7 separate regions of the Homo sapiens genome follow, and all the other regions are linked to region 1. Evidence: promoter capture Hi-C in 16 types of primary human blood cells and fetal thymus (Javierre and others, 2016). All regions are on one chromosome and are shown on one strand. Each heading gives the region's core, a stretch centred on a gene start or on the middle of the fragment in contact. The rest is flanking DNA. Distances are from core to core; before and after follow the strand shown. Region 1 holds the start of BCORL1 (BCL6 corepressor like 1). Region 2 overlaps ZNF280C (zinc finger protein 280C). Region 3 overlaps XPNPEP2 (X-prolyl aminopeptidase 2). Region 4 overlaps ZNF280C (zinc finger protein 280C). Region 5 has its middle 8.7 kb from the start of SASH3. Region 6 overlaps SASH3 (SAM and SH3 domain containing 3). Region 7 overlaps ZDHHC9 (zDHHC palmitoyltransferase 9).

Region 1 (3,298 bases), core at 415-2,914:
GCGAAGGTAGATCGGCGGGGCCGCGAGCGGAGGGAGGGAGGCCCGCGGCGGCGCGGCGGCAGCGAAGGCCAGCTTCCGCGGAGTTTGTGCCCGGGCTTCCCGGGCTCTGGCCGCCTCACGCGCACAAATGGGGCTAGGGGACTGAGTGGTAAGCAACTCCGAGTGTTAGACGGTGATCGGGCGGCGATTCCGGGAAAAGCGAGGAAAGACACAGTCTGCGATTGTGCCGCACCCCCCACCCACCTCTTAGCATCTGGATTCTGCTCTCGTAGTGGGGGCCGCGGACCCTCCCCGCCACAGTCCTTTTACTCTCCAGCACTCCCACCGCCTTCCCCCTTCTTCAGCCATCTGACTCTCCTAGGGGTATGTGTTTTTGGGGGTGGACGGCGACGGGGGTGGGGGATACTTTCCTTCCCGTGGCGGCAACCTAGTTCGTATCTTATTCCTACAAGGTAGCGTCGCTTCGAGTCGCATGGACATTGGGGTTTAGATAATTTACCCCCCACCCAAGCGATTTAATGGCTTTTAAGCAAAAGGCGAATACCTGGATTTCCATGGGAGGGATGAGGTTTGAAGATTGGGATTCACCCCTAGCTCACTTCCACTACCAACCCCTCTTTCTTGTGAGCCACTTCCACGGGTATTCAAATCTGGGGGGGAGGGGGGACGGGAGTATTAATATGCTTCTCTATTTCTACACAGGGTCGGCGTGGCGAAGGACGGCTAGCCTTGGAGGGAAAGTAGCCACCAGTCCAACTCGGGTCGCCCCCACCATTATTTCGGTGAGGGGGCAACGCTAAGAAGGGGATACTGGTGGGTAGGGGCCCAGTATAAGGGAGGGGGCTGGGTAGTCGTCCCCAGAAGGACTCCGTGTCTTGGCGGGGAGAGAGAGAGGCGAGCCCCGGCTTCAGGGGAGGGGTTCCGGGGAGGGAGATGGGGGGGTGGCGACGACGGTGGGGGGGGGAGCGGGAAGAAGGGGGAGTCACGCCCTGCCTGCAAGGGGAGCCTCCCTCAGGCCCCTGGGAGAAGGGGACTGAATGCGTCTGTTCTCCGCTGCCCGGCAGAGGAGATCTGGGGTCTCGAGATTTGCACACTGGATCGGCACCAGTGGCCTGAGAAAGTCAGGTCGGGGCATAAGGTGGAGAACGTTGGAAGAAAGAGAGAGAACCCTTTGGCCGCGGCTCACTGACCCTCTCCCTTCCTCAACCTCCCCCTTCGAGGGGCGTCGAGGTGGGGGGGGACGTGGGGCTCCTGCAGCCCCGCAGATTGAGCGCCTCCGCCTCTCCCAGGAGTCTAGCTTTTTGCCCGGCTTGCTGCAGCCACTGCTGCCTCCCTCTCCGGAATCCGCTCGGTCCTCTCAGCGATCCCCTCCTCCTCTCCTCCCCTCCCAGTGTCACCGGGGCTGCTTGGCTCTGCCCCCTTCGCCGCCGCTTGCTCCCTGCTTTCGTCCCTCCCTCTCTTGCTCGCTCCCTCCCTTCGCCTCCTCCTCCCCATTCCCCCCCACCCGCGTAGGCCGCATTCTGGGAGTTGTAGTCCGGTGGAGCGGGGGTTGGCGCCGCCCGCGGACCCAGCCGGACTCCACTTCCCGTCGAGCCCTGCGACCGGCACCCACTCCACCAGGCTTCGCTCGCACACAGACACACACACACACCGCTCTCCCCCTCACTCTTTCGCTCGCCGCGGCTGCTGCCAGTGTGTGGCTCTGTCTCTCCTCCGCTTTGCTGAGCCCTCCCTTCTTCCTCTCAGTTCCTAGAGTCCGACCGCCGCCGCCGCCGAGAGAGAGGAGAAGGAGGTCGGTGGCGATAAGGGGCGGAGGGGGGCATCAGATCGGGGCAGTATTAGGCGGGTGGCGGTTAAGAGGGAGTAAGAGGGAGCCCGGGTGGCGGCCTGAGCCTCCCCGCGGAGCCGACCCGGGAACAGGTGCGTCTTTTTTCTCTCTCCCCCAATCCCTCCACCCCTTTTGACTCCCCGGCTTTTTCGTATCCCCCCACCCGCTTCTTTCTATCTTAAGCCTTTCTCCAACCCTGTTCCTTCTTTTCCCTGCGGCCGCTCGGCTTGCCCCCCGGGGGCGCCGTCCTCTTCGTGTCCCCGGACGTAGCGCTCCCTGGAGCTGGGTATGTCTTCGCCCCTCCCTTCGGGACAGCTCCCTTCCACTTCCCACCTTCGTACCCCATCCCCTGACTTGCCCTACCCCCTTCTCGACCCCCTTCTCTCTTAGCCAGGTGAGACTCGTTCGCCACGATCCAAGAGAGTCTTCTTCCCGGCTGGGCGGGGGTCTCCATGGAAACGGGGGTCGGTTGATCCTGGGGGGGAAACCATAGGAATTACCCCACTCCTCGGAAAGGGAGGTGGAGGCTATGGTCTTGTTAACTACCTGACTCCAACCCCCGATCCAAGGATCCGACGATCCGAAGGGAGGCTGGCTAGCAGGGCAGGGCGAGAAAAGGCTTTTTTTTGGGGGGGGGGGGTGTCCGTGATGAAGTGTTGAAGAGACCGGGAGAAAATGCCCTCCAACCTCAGAGGGGAGGTGCGACGGGTGCTCTTCAGGGCTGCTTTCTTCCCGGCGCTGGGGTGCGGGAATCGTAGGGTAAGGGGTACCCCTAGGTGGCGGCGGGGCCTGGGTTCGGGAGTGGGAGTGCTGTGATGGGGGCAGGGGCAATTATCCGAGTCCCTGGAAAAAAGGCGGGGGATGACTTCGGAGCGCCCTGGCTCCGCTGCCCTCGCTCTAGGGGCGGGGGCCGCCGGGCCGGGCGCGGCGGGGAGGGGGCTTAAATTGAAGGAAGATGAGATCGGGGGCAATTCATACTAGCACCGGCAAGCCAGAGGGGAGATCCGGCGTGCAAGCCCTCCACCCGCTTCGCGCCAGGCCTGGAGGCAAGGGGTCGGCGAGCGAAGCCGAGGGCTGGAAGGAGGGAGGCTCCGGTTACGGGGCCGGGTTTCGGGATCAGGGGCAATCCCCCGGCCCTTGGAGAAGGAGGGAGAGGGATGGCCGCGAACCCCAGGGCTCCCCCACCCCGGGTCCTAAGGGGCGTGAGGGACGGACAGCAGGCCCAGCGGAGCTGGATTCGAGCGGATCGCGGCCGGGGAGTGGGAGGGCTTAGTGGTGGGCTTCGGGGGGAGCAGTCCGGCGGCGGGGCGGGCGGGCGGGGCGTGGGGCTCCGGCGGGCGGCGGGGCGGGGCCGGGGGCGGCGCTGCTGCCGCCGCCGCTGCCGCCGCCGCCGCTGCTGCTCCTGCTGGGGCCGCCGCAGCCGTTGCCGCCGCCGCCGCCGCCGCTTCTGGGCGGGGAACGGAGGCCAAA
Region 2 (3,298 bases), core at 587-3,086, 240 kb after region 1:
TTTCACATGGTTAAACCCTCCAAATGGCTTTCCGTAACACTCCAGAATTCTGACTCTGGCTTACAAGTCCTCAAATGATCTGGCTTACATTCTCTTGCTACAATTTCATCTCCTACTACTTTTCCTCTCACTTGTTTACTGTGCTCCAGCCACACTGGTCTCCTTGCTCTTCCTTGAATATCCTAGGTATATGTTCACTTCACTGCCTACCTATTGTTCCCTCTACCTGGAACATTCTCTCCCAGATGAGTAAGCCACATGACTTACTCTCTTATTCCCTTTGGAGAAGCCCTCTTTGACCACACCATTTAAAAAACAGAAACCACTCCTTCACCTGAGCCCTGGCACTCTCTATCTACCTATATTTTCTTCCCATGGTACTTACCATCAGCTGGCATACATATACATTCAGACACCACACACACACACACACACACACACACACACACACACACACACACACACACACACCCTTCTCTACCATGATGCATTATTTCAGTGAGTACAAACCTTGCTTTGCTTACTTCTGTATCCCCAGTACCTAAAACAGTCCTTGGCATATATTAGGCACTCAAATATTTCTTAAATAAAGAAATAAAGTGAGGCAAGAGACTGACAGAGTACAAATGAGCAGCAGGCACAATTTAACTAGTTCAAAGTGTCTGCCATTTCATTCAATGAGTATTTACTTGTCCAGAGCCCCAAGATGGGAGACATTAATCTACTATTCCCTTAGTTGGACTCAAGTCCTGGATATCCCTCTTATGTATGTATGCTTGCATTGTGCTAATGATCACAGATGATACTTTTTTTTGTTTTTTGAGATACAGTTTTGCTTTTGTTGCCCAGGCTGGAGTGCAATGGCACAACCTCGGCTCACTGCAACCTCCGTCTCCTGGGTTCAAGCAGTTCTCCTGCCTCAGCCTCCCAACTAGCTGGGATTACAGGCACCTGCCACCACACCTGGCTAATTTTGTATTTTTAGAGATGGGGCAGGGCTGGTCTCGAACTCCTGACCTCCAGTGATCCACCCTCCTCGGTCTCCCAAAGAGCTGGGATTACAGGCATGAGCCACTGTGCCCAACTAATACATTTTTAAAATAATGTTTAACCAAAGAAACAGTAACTTGTTCCAAGGGTAGAGAAAAAGTTAAGTGTTGAACTTCTTGACATGCATACTATATGGTTTTTGGGTTATATGAGGAATTTTTTTTTCTTTTGAGACGGAGTCTTGCTCTGTCTCCCAGGCTGGAGTGGCATGATCTTGGCTCACTGCAACCTCTGCCTCCCGGGTTCATGTGATTCTCCCCCCTCAGCCTACGAGTAGCTGGGATTACAGGCATGCACCACCACACCCAGCTAATTTTTTTTATTTTTAGTAGAGACAGGGTTTCACCATGTTGGCCAGGCTAGTCTCAAACTCCTGGCCTCAGGTGATCCGCCTGCCTTGGCCTCCCAAAGTGCTGGGATTACAGGCATGAGCCACTGCACCTGGCCAATTTGAGGGATTTTCAAGGGTAACTATCTGTAATTTCTGCCTTTAGACCTAATGTCAATGTGGAATATGAGTCTGCGGTGGAAGCTTGGGCTATAAATCAATTTTGGGCTCTGCCATTTGTTAGGGAATGTGACACTGGGCAAATTACTTTCTATAAAGCTTTGTTTCCTCATCTATAAAATGAAAACAATCATATACCTGCCTCATAGGGTGGCTGTGAAGATTAAACAAGATAATGCATGTAAAAGCACCAGTGGCTGTCAAATGGTAAGTGATTATTATATGTTAACTGCTTATTGTTGTTATTAAAGAGCTAATGAGGATATTTAACACATGTGGAGTCTTTCGTCCTTTGTTAAAAAATGTATAAACTGCATTGCTAACTCCAAAATCACTCAAGACATAATAATATATTATTTTTAGGAAAAAGTTGCAATCAAAGTTTTCAAAAAGAATAAAATAAACCATAGAGTCAATAATTCTTATTACATAAAATTGCACTAATGCCATCTAAATTATAAGCTTATAATATTGGTCAGCTCAGGTTTTTGAGTCTTTTGTGAATAATTATGCAAACTGCAAATACCTTCAGAGAAGCCTGATGATCCTTCTTATCAATAGAATCTTACCTCTTCACTGCTGACTGTTTACTCTTCAGGTACTCCAAACTTAACAAAAAAATTCAGCACCTGAAATGGACTGAATGCCTGTGTCCCCTCCGCCCCCCAATTCATATGGCGAAATCCTAATTTTCAATGTAATAGTATTGGGAGGTGGAGCCTTCGGAAACTAATTAGATTATGATGGTGGAGCTGTCATAAATGGGATTAGTGTCCTTATAAAAGGGACCCTAGAGAGCCCTCTCCACCCCTTCCCCCATGTGAAGACACAGTGAGAATATGGCCATCTATGAACAAGGAAGCAGGTCCTCACCAGACACTGAACCACTGGTGCCCTGATCTTGGACTTTACAGCCTCCATAACAGAGAGAAATAAGTGCTTGTTGTTTAAGCTTCCCAGTCAATGGTATAATAGCATGTTATAGTAGCTCAAACAGACTAAGACAGCACCTGTGGCACCTCAGTGGTCCCTCAGACTACTCCCAGATGTGATGATTCAGCAGAAGGATCGATAGGACTTAGTGTTATACTCACAGCTATGTTTTATTACAGTGTAAGGGTACAGAGCAGGATTAATAAAGGAAAATGGTGTACTGGATAGCTTCTAGAGGATTACCAGGCGCCAACTTCTAAGAGCTCTATTCCAATGGAGTCACATAGGACACACTTAATCCCTCAGCAATGAACTGCAGCAACATGTATAAAATCCCTCAGCAATGAACTGCAGCAACACGTATAAAGTGTTGCTTGATGGGAAAGCTCTCTTGAGTCTAAGAGCTTAGGTTTTTTATGGAGGTAAGCCACCAAATTTTCAGACGACTCCTCCCACTGCAAGAAAAGCAGGTGGTCACCATAACCGTATTTTTTTGTGCGAATTTTCTTGACTAACTGGTACAACATGGCTCAAGGTTCCAGGCATGTAAACCACTCTTATCAGTTAATAACATAGAGAACATTTTAGAAGCTCAATTTCCAAGATTTAGCCAAGGGCCAGTTATACAAGCAGGCACTTCTGAAATTGTGCAATATTTGAGCAACTCAGACCTGTTGGGTAACTCTTTCCAATACATACAGCAAGTTAAGGCATACAACTTAGGATATGAAGAATGACTACAGATCAGATAAACCACTTATAAGACACAGCTCACAAAGTGGGTTCATTATGTCTTTCTTACCTTTC
Region 3 (3,298 bases), core at 799-3,298, 230 kb before region 1:
CAAGTCCACATAATTTCTCACTTAGAAAGGAGCCAATACAGCAGGAGGGAGATTTCAAAATAGCAGCCATGACGAAACAAGTGAAAATTGTGTCCATTTTTCTTTATCTGTTCTGATGTAACTTCCAGAATCATTCTTTCTGCATCTTGACACCATTTTTAAAGAAATTTGTTATCCAAGACTGTTAAATCATAAATAAAACTCATCTTATTCAGATAAAGAAAGTCAAAGTTATGTCGGGAAGGGGAAGGGAAAAAAGAAAAACCTTCCTGGGGCTGGAAGGGTTTTGTCACTTCCCAAAAGTGAGGGGATGCCGAGTCATCACCCGCTGCCAGTCTTCAAGAAAAAGGCACCTGGAGCTTGAGTTTGGAAGCCGAAGAACAGAGTTCAGCTTCAATAAGCTTATAAAGACGAGAGAGACTTTCCAGCCACTTGCAGATTTTAAAGGAGAAAGGAGAGTGCAAAGGGCAGAACATGAAAAGTTCGCTACTCAAACATACCTGTACGCACCAGACCATTGAAATTTGGGTTCATTTGGTTTCTCAGAAAGGTATCATATTCCTGAACCTTGAAAACATAATTGCAAGTGAAAGAAGCCAGTCAGAGAAGGCCACATATTGTACAATTCCATTTGTATGAAATATCCAGCACTGGCAAATCCATAGAGACAGAAAATAGATTAGGGATTTCCTGGGGCTCAGGGGAGGGGGGATAGGGAGTGACTCCTTAGTGAGTACAGGGTTTCCTTTGGGGATGAAGAAAATGTTCTAGAATTAGATCGTGGCGATGGTTGCACAACATTGTGAGTATGCTGAAAGCCACTGAATTGTGCACTTTAAAAAGATTAAAATGATATGTTTTATGTTATGTGTAAAATACACATAACATAAATTATGTGTAAAATATGTAGTAAAATAAACCTACAAAAATGTATTGTACCCAAAGCTTTGGTCATTGTTGAATAGTTTTACCTGTTCACATGAAATATTTTTCACGACATTAAGTTATTTATGCTCATATCTGAACCCAACTAGGACCCTTAATGTTTATGGCCTTCGGCCAGCAAACTCCTAGTCCTGCCTAGGGGTAGACTCTTTGAATATCTTGCAGGGGGCAGGGATAGAAGATGAAAACTAAAGTCATAGAACCCAGATATAAGCATCTGAGAAAGGACGGTGCTGTGACACAGAGTTTAAGGACAGATTTGGAGACTGAGAATGTTATCAAGACAGTACGGTGTCTGTACAGATTAAGAGCGTGGGCCATGCAGTCAGACAGACCAGAGTTCAAATCCCAGCTCTACCTCTTGCATCCATGAAACCCTAGACAAGTCACTTTACCTCTCTGAAGCCTCAGTTTCCTTATCTGTAAAATGGGATGGGTAAGAATTAGAACAATGCACATGGAGTGCTTAGCCCAGTACCCGTGGCTTAGTAAATACTGGGGTTACTGCAGAGAAAGTTGAACACGGCCCCAGCCCTACCCCTTTGTCCTTCAACTAGGACTGCTCTCTTGATCTCAGTCTGCATGATTATTTATTAATCAGAAAGATACAAGAGTTACTACATCTCAAGATACCATTCTGTGTGCTTTACAAATATTAATTCATTCCATCCTCATAGCAGCCCTATTGAGGCAGATGCTTATTATACTCCATCCCCATTTTACAAATGTGCAAAATGGAACACAGAGGGGTTAGGTAATTTGCCCAAGGTCACCCATCCAGTAATGGCAAAGCCAGGATTTGAGCCCCATCTGGGTCCAGGGCCCATGTCATTAATGAGTACACAAGTAAGAGTTTGTTTGAGGAAAGGGTTTCGCTGCTTTTTAAGAGGATGCAAAACTGTTACCCTAAGGCTGACCTTCCAGGAACCGAGTGCCAAAGGCAAGGTCTGTCACTTACACTTTTTTGGGGCTCCTTTGCTTCTAGGGAGCACTTGGCAGGAGAAAGTATCTGGCGTCCGAAGCCAGATGCAGAAGCATCAAAAGGTCCCGACTGCCGTCCTTCTGTCGGCGCTTGAGGAGACGGCCTGTGAGTGTGGATTTGCAGACATGGGTGGGCGCCTGGGTCTCCCCAATGCCCCAAGCCTCCCGGGCCCTGCAGCACAGAGCTAGCTCTTCCCCAAATAACCATGTGCCCACCAATTCTTGAGAACTCCATGGCCACAGCCCGTGGGAACCAAGAAGGGTAAGGGGGCAGGAGCTCATGGCTTCAGAAAAAGGACAAAAGGTAGCCCTGAGCAAGCTGGGACCAGCCCACAGGCCACCAGAGGAACGAACTGACTATGGCAGCAAAGTGCTTCTGTCCCACTAAGGGGAGGAGGACCAGGAAATGCCTCCCAACAACTTAGCCACTACCCCAGGGCACTCACACTCCCAGCTTTAGCACCCAGTGGGACTCTACTCTTTCCGACATGGCTCAGGACTTCTTGTCTGATCCCTATGGCTGGGCTTCAGATATTCCAGGGACCCACTGGAACTGTGTGCTGACTGCTAAGTATCTGCATTTTTCTGGGGGGAAAAGATCCATAACTCTCAACAGCATCTCAAAGACGCCCACTCCCCCACCCCCCCCCCCCGGCAAAAAGATTGAGTAACATGCAGAGGTAGATGATACAAGCATGCTGTTGGTAATCTTTGGAGGCCAAAGGAAACAGTGGGGCAAAAGTGTCAGAAATGCTTGCCTCTGGCCGGGTGCGGTGACTCACGCCTGTAATCCCAGCACTTTGGGAGGCCAAGGTGGGCGGATCACCTGAAGTCAGGAGTTCAAGACCAGCCTGACCAACATGTTGAAACGCCGTCTCTACTAAAAATACAAAAATTAGCTGGGCATGGTGGCAGGCATCTGCAAACCCAGCTACCTGGGAGGCTGAGGCAGGAGACTTGCTTGAACCTGCGAGGTGGAGATTGCAGTGAGATCTTGCCACTGCACTCCAGCCTGGGTGACAGAGCAAGATACTGTCAAAAAAGAAAGAAAAGAAAGAAAAAGAAAGAAAGGAAGAAAGAAAGAAAGAAAGAAAGAAAGAAAGAAAGAAAGAAAGAAAGAAAGAAAGAAAGAAAGGAAGGAAGGAAGGAAGGAAGGAAGGAAGGAAGGAAGGAAGGAAGGGAGGAAGGAAAGAAGGAAGGAAGGAAAGGAAAAAAAGAGGAAAAGAAAAGCTTGCCTCAGGCAGATCAGCATTAAATATTCCTTGTCAATTCTCTTCCCAGGGCTCTTCAACCTTCGAGCCAGTGACATCCCCTATAACCCCTTCTTCTATTCCTACACGCTGCTCACAGACTCTTCTATTAGGTATGGCTT
Region 4 (3,298 bases), core at 551-3,050, 220 kb after region 1:
ATGGTGAAACCTCGTCTCTACTAAAAATACAAAAATTAGTCAGGCATCATGGCGTGAGTCTGTAGCCCCAGCTACTCTCAGCTACTTGGGAGGCTGAGACAGGAGAATTGCTTGAACCCAGGAGGCGGAGGTTGCAGTGAGCCAAGATTGTGCCACTGCACTCCAGCTGCGAGACTATGTTAAAAAAAAAAAAAAAAAAGGAAAAGAAAATGGCATCGCCATATTCAAATTACGCTAACATTTAGTGCTTTATAAATTGTCACCTCTCAACTTGTTGCTGAAAGCTAGGCATCAAGAGACTCAAAGCCAAGTCTCCCTTAACAACTTAAGTAATGTGTGCAAGTTATTACTTACAAAGCAAGGATATAATATTCATTCACTGAAATATATAAATATTCATTTGCTGACAACCTTCTTCACCCACACTGTACTACTAGGTATTGTAGATATAACAGTAAACAAAAAAGGTACAGTGTGTGGATTCTGCAATCTAGTATCTTAGTCAAATGAGGATAAAATTAGAAAAGAAATGTGAAGGTTTTAAAATCCTGTAATTATCAGTTTATTAACAAAGCATACATATACTTTTGAAGTTCATCAGATACTTTAAACTTAAATATTTCACCTCTATAGGAAACCAGTGCATACCTTGGATTGACTTCTTTAGTTTTTTTTTTTTTTTTTTTTTTTGAGACGGAGTCTGGCTCTGTTGTCCAGGCTGGAGTGCAGTGGCACAATCTTGGCTCACTGCAAGCTCCGCCTCCCGGGTTCATGCCATTCTCCTGCCTCAGCCTTCCAAGTAGCTGGGACTACAGGCGCCTGCCACCACGCCTGGCTAATTTTTTTGTATTTTTTAGTAGACAGGGTTTCACTGTGTTAGCCAGGATGGTCTCAATCTCCTGACCTCGTGATCCACCCGCCTCGGCCTCCCAAAGTGCTGGGATTATAGGCGTAAGCCACCGTGCCTGGCTACTTCTCTAGTTTTAACAACCTGTTGTGGATTTACACCTAGCCAGAACTCCTGCACATCAAAAATTATCTTCATAAAACTGGAATCATGTGCTTTCCCCATGAAATTTAGGGGGAAAGTCTCTTTTATGATGCCATTTCCCTAATACTGAGGCTCAAATTTGTAGTTATCTCTGACTTTCTTCTTACGTAAAACATTCAATATTTCAAACGTTTTATGATGTTAACGATTTATCGAGTACTTACTCTATGCCAGTCTGAGGGTTTTAGACATTATTGCCTGATCTAAATCTTATGGCAACCCAAAGAGATAGGTGCTACAATTATTACCTTTTTACAGAGGACAGAATTAGTTTCAGTAATCTACTGAGGCCAGGATCAGGTTGGAAATGGAGCCCTTTGATTCTGAAGCCCATGCTCTTAAATATGATGTGATACCACCCCACCACCTCAGCCCAGGGCATTATTAAGTAAGTCTTAACCACTACAATAGCCTTAACCAGCCTATGTGTCTCATGCAGCTACAACTCATCCTGTATACTCCTCCAAAGTGATCTTCCTTCAGCACCCTTGATTCTACTCAAAACATCAATGGCTTCCCCAATGTCTTCCAAATGAAAATTAAGCCCAAACTCCCCAGCCTTGTTTTCAAGGATTCAACAATCTGCATCTAAGTTCAAAACTATCTCCCCAGACTGATCTTTTTTTATTTTTGGAATGGAGTCCCACTCTGTCACCCAGGCTGGAGTGCAGTGGCGCGATCTCGGCTCACTGTAACCTCCACCTCCCGGGTTCAAGTGATTCTCTTGCCTCAGCCTCTGAGTAGCTGCGATTACAGGCGCACACCACCATGCCCGGCTAATTTTTTTTGCATTTTTAGTAGAGATGGGGTTTTGCCATGTTGGCCAGGTTGGTCTTAAACTCCTGACCTCAGGTGATCCACCCACCTCAGCTGCCCAAAGTGCTGGGATTACAGGCATGAGTCACCGTGCCCGGCCAACTTTGATCTTAATATAATACTATGCTATATGAACTTTGTGCTTCATCCAAATTTTACTCCTAGTTATTCATTGTCATTCCGGAGAATGTGTATAGTTTCTGCATTTTCCTTTCTGAACTTTTATTCATGTTATTTCTTCCAACTAGAATGCCCTTGTGCCTCTTCTTGTAAGTAGAAACCTTTCTCCCCTTTGAAATCTGTATCTCTCACTGCACTTACTAGAAACCTCTTTGAATTACTGTAGTTATTTATGTTCACACCTTATATCCATACCCCTTTAATAAATTGTACATTCCTTGAAGGTTGGTACAAGCCTTCTTCATCACGGTCATCTGTATAGGACTTCCTACGCTGTATTATACATGATAGGTACACAATAAATAGCTAAAGAATATTTCATTTTAACAAAATAGTAATTATGAAAAAATTGTTTATAGAAATACAAAATGCTATGTCCATACACAGATTTTTTTAAAAAAATTTTTTGAGACCGAGTCTCACTGTGGCCCATGCTGGGGTATAGTGGCGCAATCTTGGCTCACTGCAACCTCCGCCTTCCAGGTTCAAGCAATTCTCGTGCCTCAGCCTCCTGAGTAGCTGGGATGACAGGCATGCGCCACCACGCCCGGCGAATTTTTGTATTTTTAGTAGAGACGGGGTTTCACCATGTTGGCCAGGCTGGTCCTGAACTCCTGGCCTCAAGTGATCCACCCGCCTTGGCCTCCCAAAGTGCTGGGATTACAGGTGTGAGCCACTGCACCCGACCCATACACAGAATTTGATCAATTTTCTATTCAGATGTGAGATCCACTCAAGTTGAAAAAAAAGCACCTCAGATCTTTCAAATCATACAGTTAATTTAAAAACCAAGCATACAATTGAGCTTGACCATAATGTGGTAAAAATCAAATCGAAGTCTCATCTTTAGAATTAAATCTCTTTTCATTCTTATAAGCATTTTTCAGTAAAGGTAACACCTAATATATTTTACTCTTTTCTAATTCCTCGAATTCAATGCTTTAAAAATAGCATAATTTTTTTTTTTTTTTTTAGATGGAGTTTTGCTCTTTTGCACAGGCTGGAGTTAAGTGGTGCAATCTCGGCTCACTGCAACCTCTGCCCTCCGGGTTCAAGCGATTCTCCTGCCTCAGCCTCCCAAGTAGCTGGGATTACAGGTGCCTGCCACCATGCCCGGCTAATTTTGGTATTTTTAGTAGAGACAGGGTTTCGCCATGTTGGCCAGGCTGATCTCGAACTCCTGACCTCAGGTGATCCACCCGCCTCAGCCTCCCAAAGTGCTAGGATTACAGGTGTGAACCACTGCACTTG
Region 5 (3,298 bases), core at 413-2,912, 210 kb before region 1:
GTGGGGGTGGGGACATGAGGCTCCTAGAAGCTCAGTGGGGGAGCACGTGGGCTTGAGAGTATGTGTGTGAGCATGCATATGAATATGTGTGCGCATGTGCACAGATGCACGTGCACACCACGCCCAACCAGCCAACCTCCAGCCTGTCTAAAAAGGTATTGTAACCTTGTGGAAGGGACAGAAAGGAGCCCTACACTGGGGAACTTGTCAAATGTAATCCAGAAAAGTTGGGGCTGGCACCTTTGCCAAGCAGCGCACAGTTGGTGGAAGGAAAGAACCAAGGTGCAGGGTGCCAGGCAAAGGCACCAGGCAGAGAAGTCTCCTGGCCTGAAACCATCAGGCCTAGTCTGCTGAGTGTGAGGGTGACCTGTGATGGTTACCATCACCAGTGCTTGCATCCAGAGGCTCCAGCCCTGACCAAGCCTTACTGAGTATCCAAAGATGGGCCTCTGTTTGCTAAATAATTTGCTCCCTCACCTGCTCACCCCACAAAGACAGGTACTACTAATAAAATTAAAGTCATCATCACCCTCATCATCATCACCATCATCATCATCATGGCTGCCATTTACTGAGTGTTTATGTGCCACCGTGCAAGAAGCTTTACATGCATTTTCTCATTTAATCCTCACAACCTCTGAGAAGGCCCTTTTCTTATTCCCATTTTACAAGTGCAGGAACTCAGTGAGGCCCATAGAGATTTATCAAGTGACTCAAAGTCACTTTTTTCATTGGGTAAATGAAAAAAAGCCAGATTTAAACCAGTCAGAGGACTCTAGAATCCACTCTCAAGAAAGGGCAAGTCCTGGCCGGGTGTGGTGGCTCACCCCTGTAATCACAGCACTTTGGGAGGCCGAGGTGGGAGGATCACATGAGGCCAGGATTTCAAGAGCAGCCTGGGCAACATGGTGAAACCCCATCTCTACTGAAAATACAAAAATTAGCTGGGTGTGGTGGCGCACACCTATAGTCCCAGCTACTCGGGAGGCTGATGCAGGAGAATCGTTTGAACCCAGGAGGCGGAGGTTGCAGTGAGCTGAGATCGTGCCACTGCACTCCAGCCTGGGCAACAGAGCGAGACTCCATCTCAAAAAATAATAATAATAATAAAATAAAGAAAAATAAAGGGCAAGTGGTATGGCTTTCATCATTTTACTGACAAGAAAACTGAGGCTCAAGCAGGAGAAGCAGATCCACACCATAGTGCCTCCCCAGACCCTGCCAGACCTTTGCCTTTGCACCCTGACACTTGCTCCTGGGGTTCTGGCAGGTCATGGGTGGCAAGACCAGGCACCTGACCAACACCCTCACACAGGCCTTTCGGACCGAGGCAGCTCGTGCTTTTTTCCTCAGTGCGAGACCCAGGACTCCACCTCATCTCTGAATCCCCTTAACTGCCCCTTCCAGCCTACCATTCTGGGAGGAAGAACCCAGCCCTGGAACGTGGCTGGAACGAGGGCTCACAGTCACCCCAGCTCTTCCCTCCCCTGGGACCCAGATGGCCAGACTTGACCATTCCTGCTTTAAGGGATTAACTCTGGGTCAGGCAGGGAAACAGGGCACATACACCAGGGCTGATACACAGGGACTCTTGTGACATCGTTAGGAATGAAAGATTGTTAGGAACTGTCCCCTTGGGCTCTAGTACTTTGTTTTAATGTTGGAGGATGGGGCTTAGCAAACCTCTCCTCGCCTGCTGATTGCCTGGGGAGCCGGCCATGTGGAAAAGCCCCTTTTCCTAGGAGTTAAGATTCTGGGGTTTGAGTCCCATTTGTGCCAGCTGTGTGGCCTTGGGCAAGTCACTTCTCCCTGGTCTTCAGTTATCCTTTCTGGAATCTCCCATGCTGCCTTCTTGGTGAGGTTACAGCGAGAGGCTCATGAGACCCGGATGTGGCAGCACTCTAAACCAGGAAGCCACACAGACAAGAAATGATATTGCTGTTATTTGCCCAGCACAAGTTCAATTCAGCTTCACCTTTGCAGGTAGGTAAGAAAAAGGTCTGGAACCCAAGTTTTATATATAAATAGCCAAAATTAGAAAGGCTCTAGAGCAAACATCTAATTTACGTCTTTCCAACTATGCTCCCGGGAGCCTGAGATGCCTCAGAAACACCACAGGGGCTGTCGAGGAAAACAGAGCTGCTGCACGAAGTAGCCCTGACGGGCTTCCCGTAAAATTGTACTTGAAGTAGTTGCAGGGCCAGCTTCACGGGTGTAGGACCTGTGCAGTCCCTCAAGACTTTGTGCTTACAAGGGCCCCATGCTTGGTTTAATGCTCGCCTGTCACTGTCTCAAAATTCTTGATAATTTTTAAGCAAGAGGCACCGGGCATTTTCATTTTGCACAAGGCCCGCAAAATTCAAGAGCCAATCCTGAATAGGAGCTCCATGACCAAACACACACACACACACACACACACACACACACACACACACACACACACAAAACCTGGTGCAGTCCTTTCAGTGTACAGATGGGAAAACTTCAACAGCAACCCAGGAAGAGGAAGGGACTTGTCCAAGGTCACACAGTCCAGTGGGGCCAGAGCAAGGACTAAATCCGCAGCATACTGACTCAGCTCCACAATGGCTCCGCTCTCGCTTTCAGTGTGTGCTTCTGTCACTCCCTTACTGCCTCTAATGACCCACTGAGGCCCAAGGAGACCTGTTGAAGGTCACACAGCTGTGACAACAATGGTGACGGCGGTGTTGAGCCACGTTCCTTCAAGCTTCAAATCTGAATAGAAAAGGGCATAGGTAAGATGATAGGTAGATAGGTACATACACAAATCATCTAAATAGCTCCTTTTGTTTTTTGTTTTTTTTTTTAGAGAGAGGGTCTTGCTCTGTCACCCAGGCTGGAGAGCAATGGCACCATCATAGCTCACCGTAACCTTGAAATCCTGGGCTCAAGTGCTTCTCCCGCCTCAGCCTCCTGATTAGCTAGGACTACAGGCATGCACCGCCATGCCCGATTAATTTTTTTTTTAATTTTTATTTTATAGAGATGATGTCTATGTTGCCTAGGCTGGTCTCAAATTTCTGGCCTCAAGCAATCCTCCTGCCTTGGCCTCCCAAAGTGCTGGGATTACAGGTGTGAGACAATAGTTCATTTTTTAAAATGATAACTAACTCAGCCTTTGCTGGTTTGCCAGTCAGCTGGTTCCAGCTGTGTGTGAGTTGGGACCTCAGAAGGGGCTGGGCTGGCTACTCTTCAGCCAGCTAAACCACGTCAGCAGTGAATTTTACCAACTCACTGGGTGCTTCCTCAAATCAGTGGTTGGGCACTCTTGGCACCA
Region 6 (3,298 bases), core at 478-2,977, 190 kb before region 1:
TACCAGCTCACAAGAGCAGTTGGTCAAACTGTCAAAAATTGTGCAAGCCAGTTGTTAAACACAACCATTATTAAAAATCAAATTAAAGAAACTTACAATTCAGTTAATTATATTTTTTTAAAAAGGTAAACTGGGCATGGTGGTGTACACCTATAATCCCAGCTACTCAGGAGGACGAGGCAAGATGATTGCTTGAGCCCAGTAAGAGTCCAGCCTGGGCAACATAGGGAGACTCTGTCTCTAAATAAATAAATTTAAAAAAATAAAATTTTGTAAAAACGAACAAAGGTAATACAGTAAATCTTCAAAACTCATCACTTCCTAATTCTTGTACTACCTTTTACTCTTATCAATGCTGCTGAGGTTACGTGCATCCATAGCATCTTCATGGTGGCAATAGCCTCACCCTCATTTCAGACAACACGTCCAGTGATGTCAAAATGGTAGCTTGACATTGGCCGTGGAGGGGAGTGTTTACAACACAGGAATTGGCAACTCATCAGGGCCAGCTGTTAAACAGTTATCACCTCACTGAGGTGTGGTGAGGTAGGGGGAGCTCTGGAGTCTGGCTTGGTTGTGGGTTGCCTTGGGACTTGAACCTGAATTCCCTTGGCCTGAGTTTACAGATGAGGAGTAAGTAACCCTTGGGCCTTACTCCTCATTTGTAAACTCAGGCCAACAATACCACTTACCTTCAAGTGTCACTGTAAGGATTCAGTGAAATGGCAGGCAGGCCTGGCACACAGAAACACAGGCAAAAGTAGTTTCCTCTCTAGCGACATTGTCTGCCCAGTTGTGCGGTAGCAATGGTTGAGTCCAGGTTGTGCCACCGTGGTCTTTTCTGTATGTACATCGGCACTTGAGGCTGACAAAAGCACATCCACATGGTGCCCTGGTTGAACCTGTTTCTGTGAGGTAACCAGGGCAAGGACTGTCACTCTCATTTTTACAAAAGGGGAAGAAACTAGGGCTCAGAGAGTGCCATTCAGCCTATAAGTGGTAGAGTTGGGGTTTGAGCCAGCCCCTAGCTCTTCACTAAGCCCAGGCCCATTTCTTCAGCTTCATGCACACCCCAGCAAGGCTCCTTAAAGCTTCCCGCCTACCCTCCCTGCAGGCAGACACTCTGGAGGAGGGCTCTGCCTCCCCGACATCTCCAGACTACAGCCTGGACAGCCCTGGCCCTGAGAAGATGGCGCTGGCCTTTTCTGAGCAAGAGGAGCATGAACTTCCGGTGCTCAGCCGCCAGGCATCAACAGGTGAGTAGGGGATGCGGGGGACACCTGCCGAATCTGGAGGAAAGGACTGGGTTACAGCCGTGCTGGTGGCACACTGTCTGGGCGGGGGGTAAGAGAAATGAATGCTTACTCTTTGCCTGCTGGGAACATTCTCAGTCCTCTTCACATTAAATCTTCTCAACAACCTCATGGGGCCAGTACTGTTATCCTTGCTTTATTGATGTGGAAACAGGGTCTTAGGGAGGTTAAGTGACTTGCCCAAGATGACCCAGTCTTGAACTCAGATGTACCGTAGAGGAACTTCCACTTGCTATCCTCAGGCCCCGGAGAGGCCCACGGGCAGAGGAAGAGTCTCAGTCACCCTCTTGGACCAGCCCGTCCCCACCTTTCCAAGGGGAGCTAGAGGCTACAGATCCCTGGGCCTCTGATGCCCCAGTCGGGGGTGGGCGTATGAGGTCTCCAGCTGTGAAGAGTCAGCCTCTTGACCCTAGACCATAGTTGCTGGGCTCAGGGCATCACCTGGCATCTTCTAGAAGTCCATGGGACAGGACAAGAGGTGCCAGCAGGGAACTCGTCCAGGCAGGGGCTTTGGGTTCTGCAGCCCCATTCAGCACCGCCTTTCTTGCCCCTCAAGTCCACTCCAAGTTTCCTGCTTTCTCTGCCTCCACAGACACTTCCCTGCCCCCGACTGAAAATCATTCAAAATGCCCACTACTCTGTACTTCCCAGGGAGAAGGAGCCCAACTGAGTTTCTATGTGACATTGTAACTACACATTGAGTTAAGCAGGGAAAGTCAAATATGAATGCAGGGCATAGCTTCCTGGGTGGAGGGAGCGTTGGAGTGGGTATCAGGGAACATGGAGTCTAATGGACTGACTCAGTGCTGCCAGTTATAAAATGAGAAGCCTTGAGCAGTTCACTTGGTCTGTGTGACCTCAGATTTCCGCATCTGTTCATTGGAGTGTTGGCCCAGTTGTTCTCTAGAGGCCCTCCTAATTTGCCCATTCTTTGGTCAGTGAGCCATTTCTCCTCCCATTGCCAACTCTTTTCATGTCCAAGGGCCCAGAGGTGAAGCCGTGCTCCTGGTCGGTAGCCAAGGGGGTGGTTCAGAATCCCTTCTGCAGTGTAAAGCTTGCCAGAGCCCAGCTGCCTTCCCGGTGTATACCCTTGGGATTTCTAGGCAGGTCCCCTGGAAGGCACCTGCTAGGCACTGTCTCAGCTGTTCTAGGACAAAGGTGAGCCTCCTCCCTGCCCCATCTCCTGCAGGCAGTGAGCTCTGCAGCCCCAGCCCAGGTTCTGGCAGCTTCGGGGAGGAACCACCTGCCCCCCAGTACACAGGGCCTTTCTGTGGCCGGGCACGAGTCCACACCGACTTCACTCCCAGCCCCTATGACCACGACTCGCTGAAACTGCAGGTAAGATCAGCATCCGGGCTTCTCTGGAGCCTGGCAGGCTGTGCCCAAAAAGGAAGCTGGACTGAACCAGGCTATGACAGTGTCAGTGGAGGCCAAGGCCCCCCATATCCTCTCTCCCTTGCTCCCTTCTCCTCTCCTCTCCCCCAACAGAAAGGAGATGTGATCCAGATCATTGAAAAGCCACCTGTGGGCACGTGGCTGGGCCTACTCAATGGCAAGGTGGGCTCTTTCAAATTCATCTATGTGGATGTGCTGCCCGAGGAGGCCGTGGGGCATGCCCGCCCCAGCCGCCGACAGAGCAAGGGCAAGAGGCCCAAGCCTAAGACCCTGCATGAGCTGCTGGAGCGCATCGGCCTGGAGGTTTGAGCTTGGTCCTCACTAGTATCTAGTATCAGGGAGGCACAACTGCCCCAGGGATGGGGACCAGGAAATGACAGCTATGCGTAGTTGGGGAGGACCTAGGCAGGGGTGGCTGGTAAGCAGCTGTGCCGATGGCCTGCCTCTGCCTACAGGAGCACACATCCACCCTCCTGCTCAATGGCTACCAGACACTGGAAGACTTCAAAGAGCTGCGAGAAACACACCTCAATGAGCTGAACATCATGGATCCACAGCACCGGGCCAAGCTGCTCACGGCCGCCGAGCTG
Region 7 (3,298 bases), core at 496-2,995, 170 kb before region 1:
CAATGTTGAGCAATGGCCTGTTTACTTGTTTCTTGCCCCCACTAGACAATGAGCTCCTTGAGAGCAGGGACATCGTTTGCCTCATTCATTGGTATAACCCTGGCAGCTAGTACAGTGGCTGGCACAGAGTCACTCAATATACACCAAAGAAATGACTAAATCTTAATCTACATCAAGGACACAAAGATCTGAAGGCAACATCAGGGCAGGTGTAGAGGCAGGGAAGCTGGGGTGATTAGAATACAATATTGCCTAATTATATTTCCAAGCTGTAAATTAGCCTCCGCCCTCTCTATATCGACCCAGCCTTAAGTCAGGAACACTTACTGGGCTCTGTGGCAAGAGGCTGCTACTGGTCTCTTGAGTACTGGGAGGTCGACTTCCACTTTCCTCCAGTGGCAAAATACCCCTTCGATCCAGCACACTGAAGGAGATAAGAGAGTTAACAAAGAACTGGGCATTCACCCCTCCACCCACCTGGCCTACGGAATTTTGCTGCATAGACTGGAAAATATAAACCTGTCCTTTGGCAATCTAGCCTGAACACAGCACATGCCTCTTATCTCCCATTCACTTTTTCTTCCACAAACCAGGAAATGTCACATTAACCAGGGAACAAACAAATGAAATTAAGAATGAAAGATCATCCCTCCAAAACAACCAGCCCATGGTCTATGGTCCATGTAGACATGGTACCAAGTGGCAAGCCCTGGAAAGACCTATTTGACACCAAGAGGCCACACTCAGAAAAACACATCAGACAAGGTAACAGGATCAGGTTGAGCTGCTCATCCCAACAGTCCCAGGACTTTTGAGTGCCCTGAGCACCTGGGGGGCAAGGGGCCACACAGCACTTCACAGCAGTTCTTCACAATATTGCCATGGCTGTAGGGATTCTGGACGCGATTCTTCCCTGTCCATGATCCTTTGATCTGCAAGATAAAAACCAAGGCTGACATTAAAAATAATGTTAAAATGAACAAATAATAATAATAAAATTAAAAACAGACACAAAAAAGAAAAATAATAATAATAATGTTGAAGAAACACATGCAGCATGGGATAATAAAAAAGTTCTGGAAATGGATGGTGGCAATGGTTGCACAACAATGTGATGCCACTGAACTGTACATTTAGGATATGAGGGCGATCTGGCTGCAACAACTGTCACCCCATTGATCGCCAGGGTTGAAAGACATTTAATATAGCACACTTTATATCATGTATATTTTATCACAACAAAAAAGAAATACATACACAGCCATGAAAAATACTCACAATAGAGTGAAAAAAGCAGATAACTGAATGATATATACTATTTTTATTTAAAAGTACATAATATAAACACATAAATAAACATGGAAAAAAGTCTAGACAAGTCTAGAATATATAAATCATACTACTAACAAAGGTGATGTCTAAGAAGTAAAGTAAGAGGAACTTACTTTTTTCTTTTTGCTCATCTGTATTTTCTGATTTTCTACAGTGAATGTAGATTAATTGCTAACTTTTTTTTTTTTTTTCCAGACAGAGTCTCATTCTGTTGTCCAGGCTGGAGTGCAGTGGCGTGATCTTTGCTCGCTGCAACCTCCACCTCCCGGGTTCAAGTGATTCTCCTGCCTCAGCCTCCCGAGTAGCTGGGACTACAGGTGCACACTAACACATCCGGCTATATTTTTGTATTTTTAGTAGAGACAGGGTTTTGCCATGTTGGCCAGGCTGGTCTTGAACTCTTGACTTCAGGTGATCCGCCCGCCTCAGCCTCCCAAAGTGCTGGGATTACAGGCGTGAGCCACCACACCCAGCCTAATTGGTAACTTTTTATATAGCAAGGATTCATCCAGTGCAACTGTCCCTCTCCATGCCAAACAGAGGCACCAGCTAGCCTTTAAGGACCTGTGAACAGTTAAAGGCTGTATACCCACCCAACTTTTCAACCTCTTCTTCCTAATGCTCCACAAGCATTCAACAAAGCCCTCTCCTTTCTCTTCCACACATCTGACTTAACAACCTCGCATACCACGTTTCTGCCTGCCTCAACCTCCCAGGCCCTGGAGACTCGGTAGTTCTCTAGCAGGTAGCAAGAGGATAGGCTTTGGGAAGAAGAATATGTGGTGAGGAGAAGAGAAAGTTGACTCACGTCTTCATTGGTTGTCTGGTTGAGAGCCACGAGGAAAGTATGAAATCCAGTCAGTCCCACGACGGACCAGAGTGTAAAGAAGCAAATGAGGACTTCTAGAACAGTGAGGTGTGGTTAAGGAGTATTGAAGAACTCAACATCAGGAGACTTGATGCCTCCGCCCATATTCAGAGCACCAGTCAGACCATCTTTACCTCCTGGAACGTATATCACAAAAAGCCATGTTTCCATATATAACAATAGATGAATTCTGAACTTACTGGATAGATCCCTTATGAAAGAATTTCTAGCGTATCTAGGGTATTTAAGGGTGTGCCTATTTACCCATCATTGGCTCTTGGAAGGGGATGCATGGGAGGGGCCAAAGCTAAACAATGTTGGCCATCACTGCCAATGGAAATTCTGTCAAAAAACAAAATTCATGTAATCCCGGCACTTTGGGAGGCCAAGGTGGGCGGATCACAAGGTCAGGAGTTCGAGAACAGCCTGGCCAACATGGTGAAACCCCCGTCTCTATTAAAAATACAAAAAATTAGCTGGGCGTGGTGGCGGGCATCTGTAGTCCAAGCTACTCGGGAGGCTGAGGCAGGAGAATCATTTGAACCCAGGAGGCGAGCTGGGGCAACAGTACAAGACTCTGTCTCAAAAAAAGAAAATTCATAAATGAAGAACTGGTGGGGGAAAAAAAAGAGGATGTGATTTATAGAAATCTCATCTGAACCCCCTTTGCAGAAATGCAGCCACTGTCCTGAGCAGGGGGTGAAGGAAAGACCTCCCTTTTAGTCCCGGTCATCTTCCATTCTGGTTGCTACCACTAAGACTATATTTTTTTAAATTATTTTAGACCTTGGCACTCTCTGATATCTGAAAAACTAGATAGTGGGAGAACTGTGGGGAAAAAGCATGCTGGAAAGTAGCTTAAGAAGGCTTCACAGGGACATACTGCCAGCGGAGGATATGTTCCAGGAGTTTCTTTCAATGTCTCCAAGAAGCCAATTTTCAAAGATTCTGTGAAATTGGATGGAAGAGTAGAGAGAAAAATTAGTGACTTCAGTCAAAACTACACACTATCCTAGTGCCTACTCACTTCCTTCCCTCCCTCTCCCGTGTTACACACTGGCAAGAGCTAAGCTCTCACTCGGGCAAGGGTGAAGAGCC

What was found. Contacts are between HindIII fragments. The CHiCAGO score rates a contact against its expected background, and 5 or more counts as called.
Region 2: a fragment that was not itself captured here is called in contact with the fragment with the promoter of BCORL1 in region 1 in 5 of 17 cell types (total B cells, non-activated CD4 T cells, activated CD4 T cells and 2 more); the score reaches 7.3 in total B cells.
Region 3: a contact is called between a fragment that was not itself captured here and the fragment with the promoter of BCORL1 in region 1, in 6 of 17 cell types (neutrophils, total B cells, activated CD4 T cells and 3 more). The highest score is 8.0, in neutrophils.
Region 4: a fragment that was not itself captured here is called in contact with the fragment with the promoter of BCORL1 in region 1 in 5 of 17 cell types (activated CD4 T cells, total B cells, naive CD8 T cells and 2 more); the score reaches 8.5 in activated CD4 T cells.
Region 5: a contact is called between a fragment that was not itself captured here and the fragment with the promoter of BCORL1 in region 1, in 6 of 17 cell types (M0 macrophages, total CD8 T cells, naive B cells and 3 more). The highest score is 6.2, in M0 macrophages.
Region 6: a contact is called between a fragment that was not itself captured here and the fragment with the promoter of BCORL1 in region 1, in 6 of 17 cell types (non-activated CD4 T cells, total B cells, naive CD8 T cells and 3 more). The highest score is 7.5, in non-activated CD4 T cells.
Region 7: a contact is called between a fragment that was not itself captured here and the fragment with the promoter of BCORL1 in region 1, in 3 of 17 cell types (non-activated CD4 T cells, total B cells and activated CD4 T cells). The highest score is 6.7, in non-activated CD4 T cells.

Annotation. Positions count from the first base shown.
Region 1 is chrX:129,980,971-129,984,268 of GRCh38, forward strand. It overlaps BCORL1 (BCL6 corepressor like 1), which reads left to right and starts at 1,665. Exons shown (of 14, transcript NM_001379451.1): 1 at 1,665-1,792. RefSeq lists a silencer at 2,494-2,730. The HindIII fragment of the contact is 8,398 bases long and covers 1-3,298 here.
Region 2 is chrX:130,221,861-130,225,158 of GRCh38, forward strand. All of the region lies in intron 12 of ZNF280C (zinc finger protein 280C), which reads right to left. Among named protein-coding and RNA genes, the nearest start is that of ZNF280C, 45 kb to the right of the region's middle. The HindIII fragment of the contact is 363 bases long and covers 1,656-2,018 here.
Region 3 is chrX:129,748,538-129,751,835 of GRCh38, forward strand. It overlaps XPNPEP2 (X-prolyl aminopeptidase 2), which reads left to right. Exons shown (of 21, transcript NM_003399.6): 8 at 1,931-2,032; 9 at 3,208-3,289. Among named protein-coding and RNA genes, the nearest start is that of XPNPEP2, 11 kb to the left of the region's middle. The HindIII fragment of the contact is 2,211 bases long and covers 944-3,154 here.
Region 4 is chrX:130,205,695-130,208,992 of GRCh38, forward strand. The region is part of intron 16 of ZNF280C (zinc finger protein 280C); the gene reads right to left. Among named protein-coding and RNA genes, the nearest start is that of RAB33A, 35 kb to the left of the region's middle. The HindIII fragment of the contact is 6,468 bases long and covers 1-3,298 here.
Region 5 is chrX:129,769,632-129,772,929 of GRCh38, forward strand. No RefSeq gene overlaps it. Among named protein-coding and RNA genes, the nearest start is that of SASH3, 8.7 kb to the right of the region's middle. The HindIII fragment of the contact is 2,127 bases long and covers 600-2,726 here.
Region 6 is chrX:129,789,826-129,793,123 of GRCh38, forward strand. SASH3 (SAM and SH3 domain containing 3) reads left to right here. Exons shown (of 8, transcript NM_018990.4): 4 at 1,115-1,256; 5 at 2,503-2,651; 6 at 2,802-3,011; 7 at 3,164-3,298. Among named protein-coding and RNA genes, the nearest start is that of SASH3, 12 kb to the left of the region's middle. The HindIII fragment of the contact is 1,276 bases long and covers 1,090-2,365 here.
Region 7 is chrX:129,810,578-129,813,875 of GRCh38, forward strand. It overlaps ZDHHC9 (zDHHC palmitoyltransferase 9), which reads right to left. Exons shown (of 11, transcript NM_016032.4): 7 at 3,100-3,148; 8 at 2,141-2,243; 9 at 829-932; 10 at 328-424. Among named protein-coding and RNA genes, the nearest start is that of ZDHHC9, 32 kb to the right of the region's middle. The HindIII fragment of the contact is 8,924 bases long and covers 1-3,298 here.